3 separate regions of the Homo sapiens genome follow, and all the other regions are linked to region 1. Evidence: promoter capture Hi-C in human tissues and cell types (Jung and others, 2019). All regions are on one chromosome and are shown on one strand. Each heading gives the region's core, a stretch centred on a gene start or on the middle of the fragment in contact. The rest is flanking DNA. Distances are from core to core; before and after follow the strand shown.

Region 1 (4,639 bases), core at 1,185-3,684:
AAGAGAAAGTTCAACGCAGCCTGATGGCCTATTTACCTTAATTTTGAAAATATTACCCACGCCCAAAAAAAGTCACAAGGGTTTCACCATAATAGGTAAGAAAAATACATGTAAAGCACTGTGACCACCTTACCAGTTGACCCTTTCTGAGCGTCTACCAAATTCTTTAAATCAGTGACAGAGTACAATCTAACCAAGAAAAGAAAAAGGAACTAAAAATTCGCAAAGACATGCTTAATATCGCAAATGCCAAGGTGATCTACTTCAATCAGATGTTTGGCAACTAGAGAAGCACAGAACCCCGTTCTCAAACTGAGCTCCATAGGAAGCTGGCTAATAACACAAAGTAAATGGCCATGCATGCCAGGATGAAGGAGGCAGAAAGGCAGGCCTGTGTATAGAGCACTGGGTTTATGACAAGCTAGAATAAAAGCAAAATATTGTTAAATTTCAATTTTTCTATGATTTTTGAAGGATTCACATAATGGCCTACCAAAAAAAAAAAAAAAGGCTGATTTAGAAAGTAATATAGCCCAGGCGCAGTGACTCACTCCTGTAATCCCAGCACCTTTTTTTTTTTTTTTTTTTTTTTTTGAGACGGAGTTTTGCTCTTGTTGCCCAGGCTGGAGTGTAATGGCACTATCTCAGCTCACCACAACCTCGCCTCCCGGGTTCAAGCTAGTCTCCTGCCTCAGCCTTCCGAGTAGCTGGGATTACAGGCATGCGCCACCACGCCTGGCTAATTTTGTATTTTTAGTAGAGATGGGGTTTCACCATGTTGGTTAGGCTGATCTCGAACTCCCGACCTCAGGTGATCTGCCCGCCTCGGCCTCCCAAAGTGCTGGGATTACAGGCGTCAACCACCGCGCCCGGCTGATCCCAGCACTTTTGAGAGGCGGAAGCAGGTAGATCACTTGAGGTCAGGAGGTCGAGACCAGCCTGGCCAACATGGTGAAACCCCATGTCTACTAAAAATACAAAAATTAGCCGGGCGCGATGGCGGGCACCTGTAATCCCAGCTACTCTGGAGGCTGAGGCAGGAGAATCGCTTGAACCTGGGAGGAGGAGGTTGCAGTGAGCTGAAAAGATCGCGCCACTGCACTCCAGGCTGGGTGTCAGAGTGAGACCCTGTCCCCCCTCCAAAAAAAAATTGTGAGCCCAGGTGTAAATGAAGCCCCCCTCCCCAGCACCCTCCTCTACATACCAAGCTTTTCTCCTAGAAAAGATGCACTGGGAAAAAGCTATCTTGAGTAAAGATCAAAACTGATATAAGCCATCCCTCATATACCAATAATATGCCATCAATAAGCGTGAGACATGTGGATGGCTAGGAGAGAGTCTGGTTTCTTCCTGATGCTGCCCACCCAAAACAGAGACTGCAGTTAGGCTCTGACCACACGAGCGCCTGGCATCTCTAGGCAACCTTTTCCATACCAAGCTTAGTTATTCCGGGCAAAATGCAAAAAAAAAACATAAGTAGGAACCTATCATGAAGTGTCCTGGATATTCTTAAATTAAATTTAACCAGATTCTCAAAACATTTCATAACTAACGTCTGCTTTCTTCATTTAATTCTCCAAACATTATAATTTACATTGGTAGAAGAAAGTCCCACTTTACCTGCGGTGAAAAAGGTCGAAATGTCTATCTAGCATGAGATGAAAAACACTACCAGAGAGCAGGGTAGGATTTCACCTCGGCTATTCTCGCTCTAAGTCCAAAACTCCCACATCCTCTCCGCATCCCTCCACCCCGACAGAGTGGCCACAGGGCGTAGAGCGGAGGCTGATACCGCTCAGAGCAGACCGAAGGGAAAAGACGTCTCCCACCGCGCTCATGCCCAACCGGGCTCTCTGGAAAAGGGTCCCGGGGAGCGCGAGGAAAGAAACGAAGGCCGGAAGGAGGCAGAGCGGTCTAAGCAAATAAAAACCCCGGACTTCCACGGCGGCCGGAGCTGGAGGCCTGTGACAGCGGCTCCTCCTCTCAGAGCTTTCCCGGCTTCAGGAGGAGCTGGGGGGCGCCAGCTTCCCGGTGCCTGCGACGCACAGCCCGGCTGGAGCGAGAGCGCAGGGCAGCGGCCCCTCGGGACGAGCTCGCTCGCCTCCCCCGGAAAGGGAGGCTGTGGCCGAGACGGACGGCGGCCTCCAGCTCGGGCGGGGGAGGGCGGCTCGAGGCCTCCGGACCGGGCGCTGAGGTGGCGCACCGGCGCGGGAATGGCCCCAGCCAGCCCCGCCAGGCGATCGCTGAGTCCGTCACTCGTCTGCCCGCGTCCCCGCTTACCTGCTACCCTCGTTCCTGGCAGCTGCCCCGCCGCCGGCCCCGTCGCGGCAGCAGCCTGGACCGCGGACCCCGCCTTCGTCAGCTCCAAGGGAAGCCCCGCCAGCGACGAGGCGTCCGGCCTGTTCGCCGCGGCCACAGCCGCCGAGCTTCCTCTGAAGCGGCTGCCGCGACGCCGGCGCTGGCCTATCGCGTCACCTCCTCCGCGCCCTTCCGCCTGCGAGGCTGGGCCTGGCACCGCCCGCTTCCGGCGCTCCCGCCCCGCCTCCCGACCCGGGGCCGCCCCGCCCCCGCCCGTCACCGCGTCCTTAGCCCCGGCCTCCCTCAGAACGCGCTGGGATGGGAACCGCGTTCAGGAGCTGCTAAGCGCGTTTGAGACTTCAGCCCCTTCTCCAGCTTTTAACCTAAAAGGGCTAAATCAGACCGCAGCTAGTGTACACCCCTACCCTCCGCTGATCCCGTCACCCCTGCGCCGAAAGCAAAAGACCCATTCCAGCTCTGGACGTTGTGAGGCCTGGCCCAGGCGTCCGCTCTCTGGTTTTCCTATTGATCTTACCCCTGGTATTGTGATTGGCCTCTTTATCTATGTCTTACCCGCCCCAACTGTGAATGCTTTCCAAAATTATAAGCCGATGTCCTGACAGGCAAAAACATAATAATAGCAGATTTATGGCGGAAGATGAGTTCAGTTTTGAACATACTCGATCTGGAAGAATAAAGTGGAGGTGACTGCAATGGAAAACCAACAGTGCGTTGCTGAGAGCCTGTGTAGGCAGTAAGGATATGCATTGATGGTGGAGAAGATAAAAACAATACCGAAGCCAACTGCAGGATGGTTTGCTTTTAATTATCATCATGTGTCAGAAAATTCTAAACAATGTTAATGAAAAAGTACTCCTTTCCAAACAAAAGCTTTGTTTAGTCTTAGTTCTAAGCAATGGCTGCAATTACTGTTGATTTTTTTTTCTTTTTTCTTTTCTTTTTTTTTTTTTTCCAAACAGGGTCTTGCTGTCTCGCCCAAGCCGGAGTGCCGTGGCACACCCTAGGCTCGCTGTAACCTCTGCCTCCTGGGCTCAAGCGATCCTCCCACCTCATCTTCCAGGGTACCTGCGACCACAGGCTCCTGCACCACGCCCGGCTAATTTTTTATTACTATTACTATCATTATTTTTGTAGCGATGACATCTCCCTATGTTGCCCAGGCTGGTCTTGAACCCCTGAGCTCAAGTGATCCTCCCACCTGGGCCTCCCACAGTGCTCGAATTACAGGCGTGAACCACCACACCAGGCCCTCTCACTTCTTTTTAACAGTTTCTCTTTGTCAGTGATTTTTTTTTTTTTTTTAGAGGAGTGTCGCTCTGTCGCCCAGGCTGCAGTGCAGTGGCGCCATCTCGGCTCACTGCAAGCTCTGCCTCCCGGGTTCACGCCATTCTCCTGCCTCAGCCTCCTGAGTAGCTGGGACTACAGGCGTCCACCACCACGCTTGGCTAATTTTTTTTGTATTTCTTTAGTAGAGACCGGGTTTCACCAAGTTAGCCAGGATAATCTCGATCTCCTGACCTCGTGATCTGCCCGCCTCAGCCCCCCAAAGTGCTGGGATTACAGGCGTGAGCCACCGCACCCAGCCTGTTAGTGATTTTTAGCCATTTATTTTGTGCCCTATCTTTGTTTTCTTTGTATTTATCTGTCTTGGATATCATTGAGTTTCTCTGATTTGTGGGTAGATGTCTTGCATCAGTTTTGAGAAATTCTCAATCATTATCTCTTCAGATATGGTTTTTGCTGCATTCTCTATGCCTGTTCTCCGAGACACCAATTACATATGTAAGATTATTATTATTATTATTGAGACAGAGTTTCACTCTTTTTGCTCAAGCTGGAGTGCAGTGGCGCAATCTCGTCTCACTGCAACCTCTGCCTCTGCCTCCCGGGTTCAAGCGATAATCCTGCCTCAGCAGTATTATCTACTGAGGTAGATAATACTATTATAATAGTATTATTATCGAGTAGCCAGAATTACAAGCGCCCACCACCACGCCCGGCTAATTTTTGTATTTTTAGTAGAGATAGGGTTTCACCATGTTGGTCAGGCCGGTCTTCAACTCCTGACCTCCGGTGATCCACCTGCCTCAGCCTCCCAAAGTGCTGGGATTACAGGCATGAGCCACGGCACCCAGCCCATATGTAAGATTATTTGATCTTGTTCACCGTGTCTTTTACACTTTGTGATGTCAATTTTTTTTTCAATTATTCAGTTTGAAGGTTTTCTGTTTTTCAGGTTATTGAGTCTATCTTCTATAATCTCCAATCTGCTGTTAAATCTATACATTGAGTTCTTAATTTTAAATATTAGATTTTCAGG
Region 2 (4,639 bases), core at 941-3,440, 790 kb after region 1:
AGCTGGGACTACAGGTGTGCGCCACCACGCCAGACTAAATTTTGTATTTTTAGTTGTGATGGGGTTTTATCATGCTGGCCAGGCTGGTCTTGAACTCCTGACCTCAGAAGATCCACCTGCCTCAGTCTCCCAAAGTGTTGGGATTACAGGGATTAGCCATCGCATCTGGCCACCTAAACCTATGTCCTCCATGAGGCTATAAGATTTTCACCTGCAAATACCAGCATTGTTTGTTTCTTTTTAAAAGATACTTCAGTCAAGGAAAGGCAGAAAGCCAGGCATGTTAGCTCATGCCTATAATCCCAGCACTTTGGGAGACCGGAGGCAGGAGGATTGTTTGAGCCCAGGAGTTCAAGACTAGTCTGGGCTACATAGCAAACCCTGCGTCAAATTAAAAATAAAAAATAAATAGGCTGGGCATGGTGGCTCATGCCTGTTATCCCAACATTTTAGGAGGCCAAGGTGGGCAGATCACCTGAGGTCAGGAATTCGAGACAAGCCTGGCCAACATGATAAAATCCCGTCACTCCTCAAAATACAAAAATTAGCCTGGCATGGTGGCACACACCTGTAGTCCCAGCTACTTGGGAGGCTGAGGCAGGAGAATCGCTTGAATCCGGAGGCAGAGGTTGCAGTGAGCCCGAGATCATGCCACTGTACTCCAGCCAGGGTGACAGAGCAAGACACTGTCTTAAAAGTAAAAATAATAAAAATAAATAAAATTAATAATTAAAGAAATAAAGAAGGAACACCACAGGGGAGCAGGCCTGGTGTCTGAATGTTAAGGTAGGCCCTCTGTGGATGTGCATCCTTAACCTTTTCCTGATTAGATCATTAAAGGTGCAGCAATGCTCCTGCTCATATGACTTTTTTTTTTTTTTGAGATGGAATCTTGCTCTGTCGCCCAGGTTGGAGTGCAATGGCGCGATCTTGGCTCACTGCAACCTCCGCCTCTTGGGTTCAAGCGATTCTTCTGCCTCAGCCTCCTGAGTAGCTGGGATTACAGGCGCGTGCCACTATGCCTGGCTAATTTTTTTTGAAATTTTTTTAGTAGAGATGGGGTTTCACCATATTGGTCAGGCTGGTCTCGAACTCCAGACCTCGTGATCCGCTCACCTCGGCCTCCCAAAGTGTTAGGATTGCAGGCGTGAGCCACCGCGCCTGGCAACTCATATGACTTTTAAACACTTCTCTTTGGGGAGAGAGATTTTAGAGAATGGGAGTAAAGAGAAAGGCGGTGAGAATCCCAAGTACTTTCTCTATCTTAGAGCAGAAGAAATAAAGGGAAGAGTAAAAGCCCAAGGCCCAGAAACGGATTTGCTTCTTAAAGGGCTGTTCTGTGTCCCTACGGGCCTGAAGGTCAGTTTATGTGCAATGCTTTTTAAGGTATGGGTTGCTTTCTTGCATTGTAGCTACTACCTCCCTGGCCTGCTGGTTACTGACCAGAGGGAGGGAGAGGGTGTGATTGTTTGGAAAGAGTTTAAACAGTGACAAGAATTGAATTTTATTTATTTGTTATTCATTGCACAATCCAATAACAGCGATGGCAATGAAAACGAAAGTTAATCTACAATCCTATCACCCTATTAAGTCACTTGTTTCTATTTTCCCTTTTATTCCCTCATGCATTAAACATTACGCAAAGCACTCCGCTAGTCTTGGTTAAAGTGCAGCTTGTATACATTCTGAATAAAAATTTGCATTTTGCTTTTCTTTTCCTTTTTGTATTTCTGAGGCTGCAAAATACATCTTCACAAGAGTGGCTTTAATAGTTACCTAACATTCCATCCTGCACGTACATTTCAAGGCACTGCCGCAGTGCAATATCCAACATTTAAGCGTCAACGCCAACAGATTGGACCTAGCACTGCAGGGACTGGAGGTTGGTCAAGGTCAGGCGGAGGCTGCCAGGCTACCAGGGTGGAGGAAGGCGCCGAGGCAGAGGCCAGTGCGCCCATCGCGCGGCTCCTCGGGGCACCTGCTGCCTTGGCGCCTTTTCCCTTGGCCTTCGCCTCGCCCGCAGCGCCCTCCGCATAGGGCCCCGCCCGCTGCGCGCGCATCCCCGCCCCCCGGGCGATCTGTCAGAGCACCTCGCGAGCGTACGTGCCTCAGGAAGTGACGCACAGCCCCCCTGGGGGCCGGGGGCGGGGCCAGGCTATAAACCGCCGGTTAGGGGCCGCCATCCCCTCAGAGCGTCGGGATATCGGGTGGCGGCTCGGGACGGAGGACGCGCTAGTGTGAGTGCGGGCTTCTAGAACTACACCGACCCTCGTGTCCTCCCTTCATCCTGCGGGGCTGGCTGGAGCGGCCGCTCCGGTGCTGTCCAGCAGCCATAGGGAGCCGCACGGGGAGCGGGAAAGCGGTCGCGGCCCCAGGCGGGGCGGCCGGGATGGAGCGGGGCCGCGAGCCTGTGGGGAAGGGGCTGTGGCGGCGCCTCGAGCGGCTGCAGGTACACGGGGTCGGCGGCTGTGCGCAGAGGCGTCCCTGCGCCTCTCGTCCCTTCGCCTCTCGTCCCTTCCCTTCTCTCTGCCTTCTTGCCCGCCTCCTCGGTCACAGAGCGACGAATGACGAGACCAGGTGTACCCCCACTGTCGCTCTCAGCCCCGGGGACTTCGGGTCCTCGCCCTTGAAGGCCGCAGGCCCTAGTGCGCCGGCTCCGGGCTGCGGGTCCGGGAGCGCGGGCGCAGCCAAGGTGCAGCTGCGCGGCGTGCGGCGCCGGGGGAACACGTGGCTGCTCCAGGAAGTCGCCCCAGGGAACGGCTGGGATTCGTGGGTGACCTTGGGCTCCTAAACCTTCGGTTCCCCGGGCTCCGGGCGGGCCCCGTTCTCACTGCGGAAAGGGACAAAGCTGTCCCCGATTCGGTTACTAGCGTGTTACAGGCATTAATTAGATACGGGTTTCTGTAAACTTACCCTTCGGCTCTGGTACAACCTGATCTTGCCATGCTCTGCCTGTTCGCCTTGTGTGTGGATTCTGTTTTCTCAAGGCAGAATCCGACTGAACGCCGCAGGTGTTCACATTAAGAATATTGCTAGCAGTTCTCACTACAAGACGGGAGCCATAGGAGTGACTTATTTGTGAAAGATACTTGGAGATTAGCGGTGTGGTCAGAGGGCTGTGCTGGATTGATGGGCGCCGGAGAGGCCGATTGTGTCACATTCTGCTGGACAGTTCTTTTAAGGTTGGGAGGGTGGGTAAGAAAATACATTCTGATTCGGCTCTTTTCGGATAACGCTTTCCCTCTGCTTACTGCTTGTAGAGACCTCACTTACCCGGGGGACTGGATTCTGCAGCTTTTTCCATTTTCTTCCCCGTTGATAAGAGGATTAAAGTAGGAAATTGTATTTGGCTACCCCATGCTTATATGCTAAGCTTACTGTGAAAATTAAGGTTAGGCTGTCTAGAGTACTTGTGGACCCTGCTGGTTCCCCCCGCCCCCCGGCCCTGAATTTTGGGTTACAATATGCTTCTCAAGAAAACTCAGAGTTAAGATAATTTTTGTCATCGATTTTGCAAGGTTATATATAGCATAGCATCCTTCAATTTCCTTTGGATGTTCTTATCAAGTAATGGTGGCTGTAAACCTAGCCTGTGTTGAAGATTGTTAGATAGACAGCAGTTTGGCTAACTCCGCCCTAAGGCGAGGCAGTTACTTGCCTCTGATAATGTATTTAAATGTCATGGAGCAAGATTCCCAGCTAAACCTGAATCGATCACAATGCTAGTTAAAAATGACCCTCGGCTGGGCGCATTGGCTCCCGCCTGTAATCCCAGCACTTTGGGAGGCCAAGGCAGGCGGATCACCTAAGGTCAGGAGTTCGAGTCCAGTCTGACTAACATGGTGAAATCCTGTCTCTACTAAAAACACAAAAATTAGCCGGGCATGGTGGCTCACGTCTGTAATTCCAGCACTTTGGGAGGCCGAGGCAGGTGGATCACTTGTGGTGAGGAGTTCGAGACTAGCCTGGCCAACATGGTGAAACCCCGTCTCTACGAAAAATACAAAAATTAGCTGGGCATGGTGGTGCACACCTGTAATCCCAGCCACTCAGGAGGCTGAGGCTCGAGAGTCGCTTTAACCTGGGAGGCAGAGGTTGTAGTGAGCTGAGATCGTGCTACTGCACTCCAGCCTGCGCGACAGCGAGATGCCATCTCAAAAACAACAACAAAAAAACTCCCTACTAAACCAGAAGAGTGATGGGGACGGGAAAAGATTCCTGGTCCAATGTTTTCATTATATTTTTCATATCATTTGGAATCTCATGCATCAGGCATGCCCCAGTACTGTTAAAGACAATATTTTTACTCATTATCAGGTAGTTCAATACCAGTTATTACAGGATAGGGAAGTCAGTCAGAGAAGGCTTCATAGAGATGAAGCCTTGAGCTGAGCCTGGAAGAAATGAGGAGGACCTCAAGGAACAGAGAAGAATGTTGGTGGGTAAAAACAGGGGCTGGATTCTGTCTGATTTTGGAGAAAATAGAGGGTAGTGAAGTTGTTAGGCAGTGAATGTGTTCCATTTCATGGTTCAAAACGTGGGGCTACGTTTTGCCTACCTGAGCTTCATTATTAATGTGAGAAATTGAATTGTTGTTTTCAGTCACCATTGAGAACACCAAAGATAACACAAGTAGCTT
Region 3 (4,639 bases), core at 1,122-3,621, 640 kb before region 1:
GCCTGGCACAGCCAGGTTCCCAGGGAAGACCAGGGGTGCCGATGCTGATGCGTGGGCCTGAGCTGGCCTTGCCTATTGACTGAGAAGGCTCCTGGGTGGCTCAGAAGTGGTTCCAGCCAAGCCTCTAGAGACATGCCAGACTTCTGCCCGCTGTGTCATAGGGCAGTAACGGCTTAGCAGGTACCTCTGTCTCCCTCTGTAGGCCGCGTCGTCAATATCAGCAGCATGCTGGGCCGCATGGCCAACCCGGCCCGCTCCCCGTACTGCATCACCAAGTTCGGGGTAGAGGCTTTCTCGGACTGCCTGCGCTATGAGATGTACCCCCTGGGCGTGAAGGTCAGCGTGGTGGAGCCCGGCAACTTCATCGCTGCCACCAGCCTTTACAGCCCTGAGAGCATTCAGGCCATCGCCAAGAAGATGTGGGAGGAGCTGCCTGAGGTCGTGCGCAAGGACTACGGCAAGAAGTACTTTGATGAAAAGATCGCCAAGATGGAGACCTACTGCAGCAGTGGCTCCACAGACACGTCCCCTGTCATCGATGCTGTCACACACGCCCTGACCGCCACCACCCCCTACACCCGCTACCACCCCATGGACTACTACTGGTGGCTGCGAATGCAGATCATGACCCACTTGCCTGGAGCCATCTCCGACATGATCTACATCCGCTGAAGAGTCTCGCTGTGGCCTCTGTCAGGGATCCCTGGTGGAAGGGGAGGGGAGGGAGGAACCCATATAGTCAACTCTTGATTATCCACGTGTGGATTATCCACCATGCCAGGAAGACCCATAACTGGTTTTAACACTAACTAGAGGGAATGACTTCTTTGCATAGTGAGTGACTTGGGCCTTCACAAACAGGGTGTGGAGTGGCAGGCAGAGGCCTCTAAATCTCAGGGCAAACATGGTGAATCTATCTCTCCGGAGATAATTTCATACAGAGATTTTAAGAAAACATCTTTATATTAAAAACAGATCTCATTTGATCCTTAAGCCAGTCTCATGAATGAAAAGGACAGGTTTTTTTCTTTTGTAAATGAAGCATTTGCAGCTTAAAGAGGATGCATGAAATAACCCTTTTATCGCTTATAAATAGTGCCAGTTATGTGTTCCTGCCACGGCTGTGGAAATACTTCACATTTGCATTCCAGGACTGTTTTGGATCCATTTGCCCGAGAATCTTCTGACTAACTCTGTGTCCTCATCTGGGCAGCACACACCAAGTGCCCACTGGTACCTCTGCATGTCCATGGTGCTGTGTGACTGGCCAGCCAGCAGCCAGTGACTCAGAGCTGGCTGTATGGAGGGGGTGGGAATGTTTCTGGAGATTTTTGTTTTTCCAGACACAGTCTTGCTCAGTCCCCTAGGCTGGAGTGCAATGGCACCATCTCCGCTCACTGCAACCTCCGCCTCCCTGGTTCAAGCGGTTCTCCTGCCTCAGCCTTCCAAGTAGCTGGGGTTATAGGCACCCACCACCATGCCGGGCTAATTTTTGTATTTTTAGTAGAGATGGGGTTTCACCATGTTGGCTAGGCTGGTCCCGAACTCCCGACTTCAAGTGATCCGCCTGCCTTGGCCTCCCAAAGTGCTGGGATTACAGGCATGAGATTTTTACTTGAGATTTTTCCATCCTCTTTTAGGACTCAGGATAGACTTGTGTGGAGGTGCTCTCTGGCTAAGGGGATAAGTTGTTACTGGTTTGGGTCTGCTTGGTTTTGCCTTGGGTGGGGCCGGTGTCGATGGGGCAGGCTTGGCACGAGCAGTGGTGCCATGGCAGGGCACTGTGGCATCTCCCCTAGCAGTGGATTTGGGGTCCCTGCTTGCCTCACGTGGTGCTTACACACATGTACACACACACACACACACACACACACACACACACCTTACACACATGTACACACACACACACACACACACACACACACACACACACACACACACACACACACACACACACACACACACACCCCTGTTCTGCAGGGCTTCAGCGTGGCCTTCATTCCCGCCTCGCCTCGGCCTCTTTTCAATTAAGAAGTGATGCCACTTGAGGCAGGGTCTGCATGATCACTTCTTGGGTTTCAGTTTGAAAGCTGCCATCCCTGCGACTGCCCAGGGCCTGTATGTTGGGACCGAAGCCAAACACCACTGTCCTCCAGGGGGCTTTCGGCCCGGGGCAGGGTCCCCAGTGCCCGCCTTCGAATCAGACTCCGCGTTTCCGCCTCTCCCTGGGCGGACCTGCCGCTAGAGGGCGCTCCTCCTCCGCAGCCGGCGCCGGCCTCCAGCGCCCCAGACTCCCGCGCTGCCGCCCGAGCCTGAGGTTTCTCACGGCGTTCGGGATTCGCGCTTCGGAAACCGGGAACAAAGAAGCAAGCAGCACCCTTCAGAAACAGTGTTCTCGCTCTCCTAGCAGCTGGCCCGGGCCCGGAGGCTGGTGCCAGGAGAAGGCAGAAGAGCCCGGGCAGCCGGAGTGGGCTACGGGGTTCAGGCAGTGCCAAGGAAGAAGGGCCTCACAATGGGCAATTCAGCTGCCTCCCGGGCCGTTGTCCCCGCTGTCTTCAAACAGGGGTCCCCTGTCCCAGCTGCCCCAGGAGGAGGGGGGGAGGCAGGCAGGGCCGAAACCCTCCAGAGCCCAGAGGGGGACGCTTGGTGGCCGCTGCAGTTACATAACCATAGGATGCTTTTGTACCGTGGACCTTGTTCTAGCAGGATCCTTTCGGAATTGCACTTTTACATGTTGGGCGAATTTGTGTCCGTGCTGAAGTTTATTAAAGGAAAATAGATGGAGCCTTGGAGTTGCACGTGTGCGTCCCTGCCTGGGAACTAGAGGAAGGAGGGCCACATACTCTGGGTCCCCATCAGCAGACCCGAACGTCAGAGAAGCTGCATGTGCGTCTACTGGGATCTTCTGAGTAAGCTAGAACTGCTGGGCCGGCCTGTGCAGGTTGTTCTGGCTTTTAATCGTTTCCAGTGATTGAAAAGCCCAGGCTACCATCCCTCCAAATAACTCCAGTGCTAACTCAAACCTCATATTCACCATTCACTTTCCGGCAGCTTAGAACCTACCGGGGCGCAGGACGTAGTTTTCGTCTTTACCAGAGTGCGTGGCCGGGCGCGGTGGCTCACACCTGTCATCCCAGCATTTTGGGAGGCCCAGGCGGTCGGATCGCCTGAGGTCAGGAGTTCAAGACCAGCCTGGCCAACGTGGTGAAACCCTGTCTCTACTAAAAGCACAAAAATTAGCCAGGCGTGGTGGTGGGCGCCTGTAACCCCAGCTACTCGGGAGGGTGAGGCAGGGAGAATCGACTGAACCCAGAGGCAGAGGTTGTAGTGAGCCGAGATCATGCCACTGCACTCCAGCCTGGGCAACAGAGTGAGGCTCTGTCTCAAAAAACAAAACAACAACAACAAAACAAAAAAAGAGTGAGAGGACAAAACAGGTGTATATTCCCATTTTATAGATGACATAACTGAGGCCCAAAGAAGGAAAGTGACTCACTCAGTGTCACAGTAAATCCACGGCAGGACCAGGGCCAGAACAAAAGTCTCCTGAGTGGCACTCTTCACTATCACATAACACTGTGGCTCGCAACAGCCCTGGAAGCAAAGCCAGTTGGGGTCACCAGGCACCTAGACCCTCACTGCTTGTCTGCTGGCAGAGAGCCGCTCCTTCTTGTCAGAGTAAGTAGGAAGGAGGCCTTTGCCTGTGCGGACCTATGGTCTGGTGACTCCAGCCAGCACAAACCCATCCCCTGATGGTTGGAGGCTGGGCAAGGGCTTCTTGCAAGATGCGCCTGACAGTGCCTTGTTACAGAGCACCTGCTGTGCTTAGCATTCCACCCGGGGCCAAGAGGCTGTGTGAGCAGGTGACAGCCAGCCTGGCCCCGCCTGTCACAAGCTGCTAGGTCTGCACCCTTGCCACCCATGGCAGGGGGTCTGACAAAGACTCCCCATTTGTGAGGTCTGTTCACTGCCTGTATTTCGAACAGGGCCTGGCTCTGCAAACCTGTGCAAACTGTGTTGATATAGGAGCCGACATGAGCAAGCAGAGGCTCCCCTGGCTCAGGCAGCCCCAGGTTGGGTTGGCCAGACAGCAACCAGGCACAGGGGCCAAGTGCAGGTCCTGCTACCCAGCCACCACAGCTTCCTCTCACCTGATTCTCACAGCAACCCAGGCAGGATAGGCAGGGTGGGGTTATCTTATTTTGCAGAAACAGGCTTTCCCAAGTCTGTCACCAAGTGAGGGGTAGAGCTGGGTGTCCAGCCAGATCTAACCTCCAGCCCAGAGCTGGTGATGCGGAAAATCAGGGCAGATGGCAGCAGGATCTAAAATAGGGAGGGAAGAAGTCCTCAGTTACGTAACAGCGAGGAGACTCTCAGCCTACGCACAGTAGCAACCATGGGGTCCTGCCACTCGAGCCAGACCCTCCTTCCCTTCCCGTTTTGGGCTCTAAGTGCTGCCCCCTGTGAGAGAATGTGCTGGAGGAGCCCCCAGTATCCTTCCAGCGGGAAGTCGGCTCTGTCAAGGCCATTCCCGAGAGCAGGCTCTAGGAATTCAAAGACCAAGCAGGCAGAGCTGGATTCTGGAGCTGCCCTCAAAGGGCTTGAGGGTTATATGAGCGCCGTGCTTGAGAAGTTAGTG

What was found. Contacts are between HindIII fragments. The study calls those that stand out against the background at their distance.
Region 2: the fragment with the promoter of TFRC here is called in contact with the fragment with the promoter of SENP5 in region 1 in 1 of the 25 tissues and cell types used here (hippocampus).
Region 3: a contact is called between a fragment that was not itself captured here and the fragment with the promoter of SENP5 in region 1, in 1 of the 25 tissues and cell types used here (lymphoblastoid cells).

Annotation. Positions count from the first base shown.
Region 1 is chr3:196,865,715-196,870,353 of GRCh38, reverse strand. It overlaps SENP5 (SUMO specific peptidase 5), which reads right to left and starts at 2,434. Exons shown (of 10, transcript NM_152699.5): 1 at 2,281-2,434. RefSeq lists an enhancer at 925-1,426 and a silencer at 2,078-2,657. The HindIII fragment of the contact is 4,194 bases long and covers 1-3,939 here.
Region 2 is chr3:196,079,641-196,084,279 of GRCh38, reverse strand. It overlaps TFRC (transferrin receptor), which reads left to right and starts at 2,190. Exons shown (of 19, transcript NM_001128148.3): 1 at 2,190-2,237. RefSeq lists silencers at 1,868-2,207, 2,258-2,557 and an enhancer at 3,439-3,938. The HindIII fragment of the contact is 11,516 bases long and covers 1-4,257 here.
Region 3 is chr3:197,507,928-197,512,566 of GRCh38, reverse strand. BDH1 (3-hydroxybutyrate dehydrogenase 1) reads left to right here. Exons shown (of 8, transcript NM_203314.3): 8 at 203-2,784. The coding sequence ends at 672. It overlaps LINC02012 (long intergenic non-protein coding RNA 2012), which reads left to right and starts at 2,906. Exons shown (of 1, transcript NR_145451.1): 1 at 2,906-4,639. RefSeq lists an enhancer at 278-815 and a silencer at 4,075-4,369. The HindIII fragment of the contact is 6,420 bases long and covers 1-4,639 here.